Regions from separate parts of the Homo sapiens genome. Here region 2 is linked to region 1. Evidence: promoter capture Hi-C in human tissues and cell types (Jung and others, 2019). All regions are on one chromosome and are shown on one strand. Each heading gives the region's core, a stretch centred on a gene start or on the middle of the fragment in contact. The rest is flanking DNA. Distances are from core to core; before and after follow the strand shown.

The links. Contacts are between HindIII fragments. The study calls those that stand out against the background at their distance.
Region 2: the fragment with the promoter of GPR42 here is called in contact with a fragment that was not itself captured in region 1 in 3 of the 25 tissues and cell types used here (H1 embryonic stem cells, lymphoblastoid cells and spleen).

The regions. Positions count from the first base shown.
Region 1 is chr19:35,488,624-35,492,080 of GRCh38, forward strand. It overlaps KRTDAP (keratinocyte differentiation associated protein), which reads right to left and starts at 1,841. Exons shown (of 6, transcript NM_207392.3): 1 at 1,733-1,841; 2 at 179-217; 3 at 39-80. The coding sequence starts at 1,819. The HindIII fragment of the contact is 6,388 bases long and covers 1-3,457 here.
Region 2 is chr19:35,369,531-35,372,987 of GRCh38, forward strand. It overlaps GPR42 (G protein-coupled receptor 42), which reads left to right and starts at 1,538. Exons shown (of 2, transcript NM_001348195.2): 1 at 1,538-1,588; 2 at 1,819-3,432. The coding sequence starts at 1,830. The coding sequence ends at 2,870. The HindIII fragment of the contact is 14,423 bases long and covers 1-3,457 here.

The sequences.
Region 1 (3,457 bases), core at 307-2,806:
GGGTATTCGTGGGGGTAGCACCAGAGAAGCGTACTCACAGATCGCAATTTGTCGATGTTCAGGAACGGGGTGTTAAAGGCCTAGGCAGAAACGCAGGGTGTTAGGAAAGTTGCTAAGAAGCAAAAAGAGAGAGAGGACAGACTCGTGGCTGGAGGGCCGGGGAAAACAGACGGCTTACCTCGGGTCGTGACGCATAATTCTCAATGGTGCTTTCTTCCTGGAAAAGGAGAGGGAGAAAAGGCGGCAGGGGGTCACGTGATGCCAGGGCCCTTGCCCACATCCCTGTCTGCCAGCTCTGCCTTCATCCACAGCCCAGTCCCCGAAAGAACGCAACCCATTCCCCACCATGGTCTCCGTTCCAGTCGCGCACATGGTTGGCGGATGTGCAGGGTGAGGAGGGGGAATTGGAGAATGGTACATGTAAGCAGTGTCACCATGGGCAGCAGGCAGAAAGCCTGGAGCCGAGCATTCCTCTCCGGAAAAGCTAGCTAGTGCTGTCCTGCAGTTGACTTAAGTCTAAGAGGTGGGGTGTTCTGGAGACACCCACGCTCAGTCCGTATAGCTGGATGGGAAAGATTTGCGAGCAGGTGGGAGCCCAGCTGCTGAGGTGACCCGCCTGCCTCTCACTGATCGAGGTTGCTTTGCTTTGTGGATTTATTGCCACCACTGTTGGAGGTTCCATAATCCCCCTCCATGGGGACCCCACCCCAGGCCTCAGTGTGTCCCATCGTGTCTTCCCCATGACAGAGCCCAACACGGAGCCCGCAGGCTGGATCCAGATGCTTAGATCTCATAAAAATTTGGTCATTTGTTTTTTGGTTTGAATTAGACATTTTGAATTAGTAAGAATTCATAAATTCATCCAGATTTCTAGTTTCCCCTGAAAAATGTAAAACTCTAGGCACATCTTCCCAATCCATGGCGTCAGGTGGGGTGAAAGCTGCCCTTTCAGACTGGGAAAGTTGGCCCCATTTCACCTCAGGCCCTGACAGCCCCCCCAGCTCAGTGACACCACTGGCTTGGTCCTTAGCAGCTGAGCCTGTGCCCCTGTCTTAGACTTTTAAATCCGGAATAGGCATCAGGATTCCTCTCTGGCTGAGGACTGGATGGTAAAGATTCTCACTGTGGCCTATGCTCCAGAGACAGCAGGGAGCCACCCGTCACCTGGGCACCACTCCCAGGGGCACAAATGAAGCAAAGAGGAGCTAAGCAGGGGTGTCTCCAGAACACCCCAGCCCCACTCCTCTTTGAGTTAAGTCAGCTGCAGGCAGAACTAGCTAGTTTTTTGCTTTGCTTCACCCTCTCCACCTGCTGCCCATGTGGATGCAGGCCTGGGTTTGGAGCTGCTCTGCCTCACATTGCCGTTCTCCAGTTCCCCCTCTTCCCCTGCACGTCCCCAGGCATGTGTGCAGCTGGAACGGAATGGGTGAACACTCTTGAGAGCCCATGGTGGAGATAGTCTGAACCCAGACCACCCACTCAGTCCCAAGGTTCAGTACACGAGCCTCCCCAACACACTTCACCATCCCTTCCAGAAAGAGGAGCATCTCTGTCCCAAATGTCTCCCCAGGGATGCTCTGTTCCCTCCTCCCTTCCTCAGAGCCCCAGTTTCTTCAGCCCCCATCAGAATCCAAAACTAAGAGCCACTTATCCAGGAATGGACAGGAGGTAGAGAGATGGAGGGGTAGGTGGGTAACACGTATAAGAATAAAAATGCAGGTGACGTGCTCACCTCAGGACCACCCAGGGTGGCTCCCTGGGCAGAGTGGAGCACCAGGAGGGAGAGGAGCACCACGGCAGGAAGGACCGGGATCTTCATGGCGTCAAGTTTGGGGTGCTCTGAGGCGGGGCCTCAGTGCTTGCTCTTTATATTGCCAAGGAGGCAGATGAGCACAGAAATGGGGTCCCCACCCCACTGACTCACCCCCAGATCTTGTCGCCCACCCCCGGGGCTCTGGGAGGGGGAGGCATGGACTGTTCCTCATTTGCCTCGGATTTCTCAATTCGCATTCTGCCCCAGGCACGTGGAAGGTAACACTGCAATGGGTCTCTTCATGCAGATGGGGCTGGGACAGAGACAGGTTGGACCTGTCCCTCCAAGGGATTGGCAGTGGTACCCAAGCAACCTCTCCTTTTGTCTTTGTCTCTTTTCGTTATATCCCTCATTCCTCTCTTAGAATTCAGGCTTTTTCTTTTCTTTTCTTTTCTTTTTTTTTGACAGGCTCTCACTCGTTGCCCAGACTGGAGTGCAGTGGTGTGATCACAGCTCACTGCAGCCTTGACCTCCCAGGCTCAAGCAATCCTCCCACCTCAGTCTCCCTAGTAGCTGGGACTAGAGGCACGCATCACCTCACCTAGCTAACTTTTTTATTTTCTTGTAGAGATGTTGCAGCTTTTTTTTTTTTTAATTTTCTCGTAGAGATGAAAATGTCTCGCCATGTTGCCCAAGCTGGCCTCAAACTCCTGGACTCAAGGGGTCCGCCTGCCTTGACCTCCCAAAGGACTATAGGTGTGAGCCTGCGCTCCATGCTCATTCAGGCCTTTTCTTCCACCCTACCAAAATCTATGTAAACTCTTTAGCTTGGCATTGAAGGTGGTCCATGCTCTGAACTCAACCCACCTTTATAACTTCTTCCTTTACTAGCTTTGTACATACCTCACATTCTGGCCAAATTAGACCCCTTACCAACTATATCCTTCTTTTTCCCTCTTCAAAGCATCCGGCCATGCTGTTCCTTATTCCTAACATGGCCTTCTCTCATCTCCAGTTCTCAGAACCCAACACTCATCTTGGATGAAGCTTCCCAGATTTTTCCTGCAATGCCCAGTCCTTCTCTCCACACCTTTCCTTTCACAGAATTCCCATATTCATTCGTTTGTATGTCTCTGGCATTGTATCTAAGTAAGTCATGTTCTCGCCTTGTTTCCCTTTTAGAGTATCAAGTTCCTTGAGGTCAGGAGCTGTATCTTGATCAGCTTTACATCCCCCTAGAACCATGGCTCACACAGAACCCAGGTAGAGTCAGCATTGGTCAGATATGATACGTTAGACTTAGTATTCAGGCATCCTTCAGCCACAGTGTACATTTTCCTTTCATGGGGCTGAACCTTTCCATTTTCCAACTGCCCGTCTTTTACTCTTGGGTCTTCAGAGAAATGACTGTCTTGAGCTAAGATGACAAGGAACAGGGAACAAAAAACAGCTCTTAGGGTGCCCAGTTGGAGATGGGATCCAGGTACCCTGAACCTGGAGTGCCCACTCCATGTCATTGCCCTAACCCACCTTGCCCCACCCCCAGTTTGGAAGTTGGATCACCTCACTGTGACACAATGTCCTAGTCAAGCAGCCTTCTCCACAGTGAGGTTCAGGTGGCCAAACCGGCTCCTGCTGTAACAGGGAGGGGCTGGGACATGGACCGGCGCTGTCAGGGAAAAGCAAGACCTTATCAACACAACC
Region 2 (3,457 bases), core at 288-2,787, 120 kb before region 1:
TGGAAAAAGACAGGGATGCCTACTCCCACTACTCCTATTCAACATAGTAGTGGAAGTCCTAGCCAGAGCAATCAGGCAAGAAAAAGGAATAAAAGGCATCCAAATAGAAAGGGGAAGTCAAATTATCTCTGTTCACTGATGATATGATTCTATACCTAGAAAACCCTACAGATTCCTCCAAAATACTCCTAGACCTGATAAATGACTGGCAGTTTCAGGATGCAAAATCAGTGTATAAAAATCAGTAGCATTACTATATACCAACAATTGTCAAGCTGTGAGCCAAATAAAGAACAGAATCCCAATTACAATAGCCACACACAAAAATAAAATACCTAGGAATACATCTAACCAAGGAAGTGAAAGTGAAAGATCTCTACAAGGAGAACTAAAAAACACAAATAAATGAAAAACATTCCATGTTCATGGATTAGAAGAATCAATATCATTAAAATGTCCATACTGCTCAAAGCAATCTACAGATTCCACCCAATTCCTACCAAATTATCAATGTCATTTTTCATAAAATGGAATCATTCTACCAAAAAGACACCTGCATGTGTATGTTTGTCACAGCACTATTCACAATGGCAAAGTGATGGAATCAACTTAGGTGCCCATCAATGGTGGACTAGATAAAGAAAAAATGGTACATACACATCACGAAATACTATGCAGCTATAAAAAAGAATGAAATCATGTCCTTTGCTGCAACATAAATGCAGCTGGAGGCCTAAGTGAATGATCCTAAGTGAATTAACACAGAAACAGAAAATCAAATGCTGTATGTTCTCACTTTTAAGTGGGAGGTAAACAATGGGTACACGCAAACATTAAAGATGGAAACCATAGACAGTGGGGACTCCAAAGTGGGGGAGGGAGGGCGGAGGACAAGGGTGGGAAAACTGCCTATTGGGTACTATGTTCACAATTTTGGTAATGGGTTCAATAGAAGCCCAAACCTCAGTATTATGCAATATACCCATGTAACAAACCTGCACATGTGCTCCCGAATCTAAAATAAATATTTTCAAAAAGCAATTGACCTATATTATTAACATTTTAATCTACCTGTATATATGTTTTAATCTGCATGTGTTCATGCTTTGAAATATGGTACAGGTACTATGACAATCCCTGTTCTGTAGGGGAGGAAGAAGAGACACATCTCTTCCCCCACATCACAAAGTCAGGAAGGAACAGACCTCACGGAGTCCAGTCTGTCACTGGCTCATGCTTTGTGCCCTTAAAAGGCAAACTGGATAAGTGCCATTCTAGAGAATCAGACAAAATTCAAGTGGAAGAGAGGGGAGGGGAAGAAGACGTCAGCTGGGGCCTGTTTGGAGCATCCCAGCTGAGGCTGCGCAAGGAGGGAGGCACGCAGTTGTGGAATTTGTTCCCCTTTTTGCATACTGACCAGCCCTGGCAACGGAGCTCAAGGCATCTTTGTGCCACTGCTCAACAGTGAGTGATGTCATGGGCACGGCCAGGTCTTTATCAGTTCTGCCGGATAAATAGCCAACTGCACTAGGTCTGGAGAGACAGCAAGGTGCTGTGCGGCAGAGCATTTGGGGTCTCAAAGAAGCAGGTGAGCCTGGGCCCGAGGGGCTGGGTGGAGGAGCACCTTGGTGCTTCTCTGCTGGGGAAGGGACAGGGGACAGGGCATGCTCAGGAAGACAGGCAGGCTGACCCCGCCTGGAAGGCACCCAGAGACAAGAGGGGTGGGCGTAGTGACCTCGTGCCCTTTTAGGGGAGATGCTGCTGGCCAGAGGCCGTTAGGGCCCCCACTACCAACTCCATGTTACTCTCTCTCACCAGTGGCCACCACCATGGATACAGGCCCCGACCAGTCCTACTTCTCCGGCAATCACTGGTTCGTCTTCTCGGTGTACCTTCTCACTTTCCTGGTGGGGCTCCCCCTCAACCTGCTGGCCCTGGTGGTCTTCGTGGGCAAGCTGCGGTGCCGCCCGGTGGCCGTGGACGTGCTCCTGCTCAACCTGACCGCCTCGGACCTGCTCCTGCTGCTGTTCCTGCCTTTCCGCATGGTGGAGGCAGCCAATGGCATGCACTGGCCCCTGCCCTTCATCCTCTGCCCACTCTCTGGATTCATCTTCTTCACCACCATCTATCTCACCGCCCTCTTCCTGGCAGCTGTGAGCATTGAACGCTTCCTGAGTGTGGCCCACCCACTGTGGTACAAGACCCGGCCGAGGCTGGGGCAGGCAGGTCTGGTGAGTGTGGCCTGCTGGCTGTTGGCCTCTGCTCACTGCAGCGTGGTCTACGTCATAGAATTCTCAGGGGACATCTCCCACAGCCAGGGCACCAATGGGACCTGCTACCTGGAGTTCTGGAAGGACCAGCTAGCCATCCTCCTGCCCGTGCGGCTGGAGATGGCTGTGGTCCTCTTTGTGGTCCCGCTGATCATCACCAGCTACTGCTACAGCCGCCTGGTGTGGATCCTCGGCAGAGGGGGCAGCCACCGCCGGCAGAGGAGGGTGGCGGGGCTGGTGGCGGCCACGCTGCTCAACTTCCTTGTCTGCTTTGGGCCCTACAACGTGTCCCATGTCGTGGGCTATATCTGCGGTGAAAGCCCGGTGTGGAGGATCTACGTGACGCTTCTCAGCACCCTGAACTCCTGTGTCGACCCCTTTGTCTACTACTTCTCCTCCTCCGGGTTCCAAGCCGACTTTCATGAGCTGCTGAGGAGGTTGTGTGGGCTCTGGGGCCAGTGGCAGCAGGAGAGCAGCATGGAGCTGAAGGAGCAGAAGGGAGGGGAGGAGCAGAGAGCGGACCGACCAGCTGAAAGAAAGACCAGTGAACACTCACAGGGCTGTGGAACTGGTGGCCAGGTGGCCTGTGCTGAAAACTAGGTCCTCCGGGGGAGGAGGGTGTAGCTGGCGTGTCATCCTCAGGGCGCTTCCTCGCTCACGCCAGGAGGGACTTGGAGTGGCGAGCTGGGGCCCGATGGGGCTTGGGGGCAGAGTAGACATCTAGCCTCCCTAAGGGTATGCGCGCTAAAGCCCAGCTCTCGATCTCACCTCCATCCCCATCCACCCACACACTATGGATTGGGCTCTGGGAAGGGGTCAGGGTGAGAGGCTGCTCTGGAGAACAATGAGGTCCTCATAGCAGCAGGCAGCTCCTGTGTTTTCTTGAGGGTGGCAGAGGAGCTAAGAGCAGTGCCCAGGTCTGAGGGGGCTGCCCAGTGAGTGGCAGGGGCAGGAGAGGGGAGAACCCCATCCTCAGAGCTGCTCCCAGCCAGCGAGTCAGGAGCGGGGGAGACAGGGCTCCAGGGATGAGGCCGCATTCTGCTCCCACAGTGCCTTTTCCAGAAAGTTCCCATTGCTCAATAAATGTGGATCATCAGAGACATTTATGAACAATGACAGAAGAAAAATTACCCAAATAAATGTGGAAGCAAGCAAAAGAGAACAGTGTTTCCTTCTTCTCCTGTTTT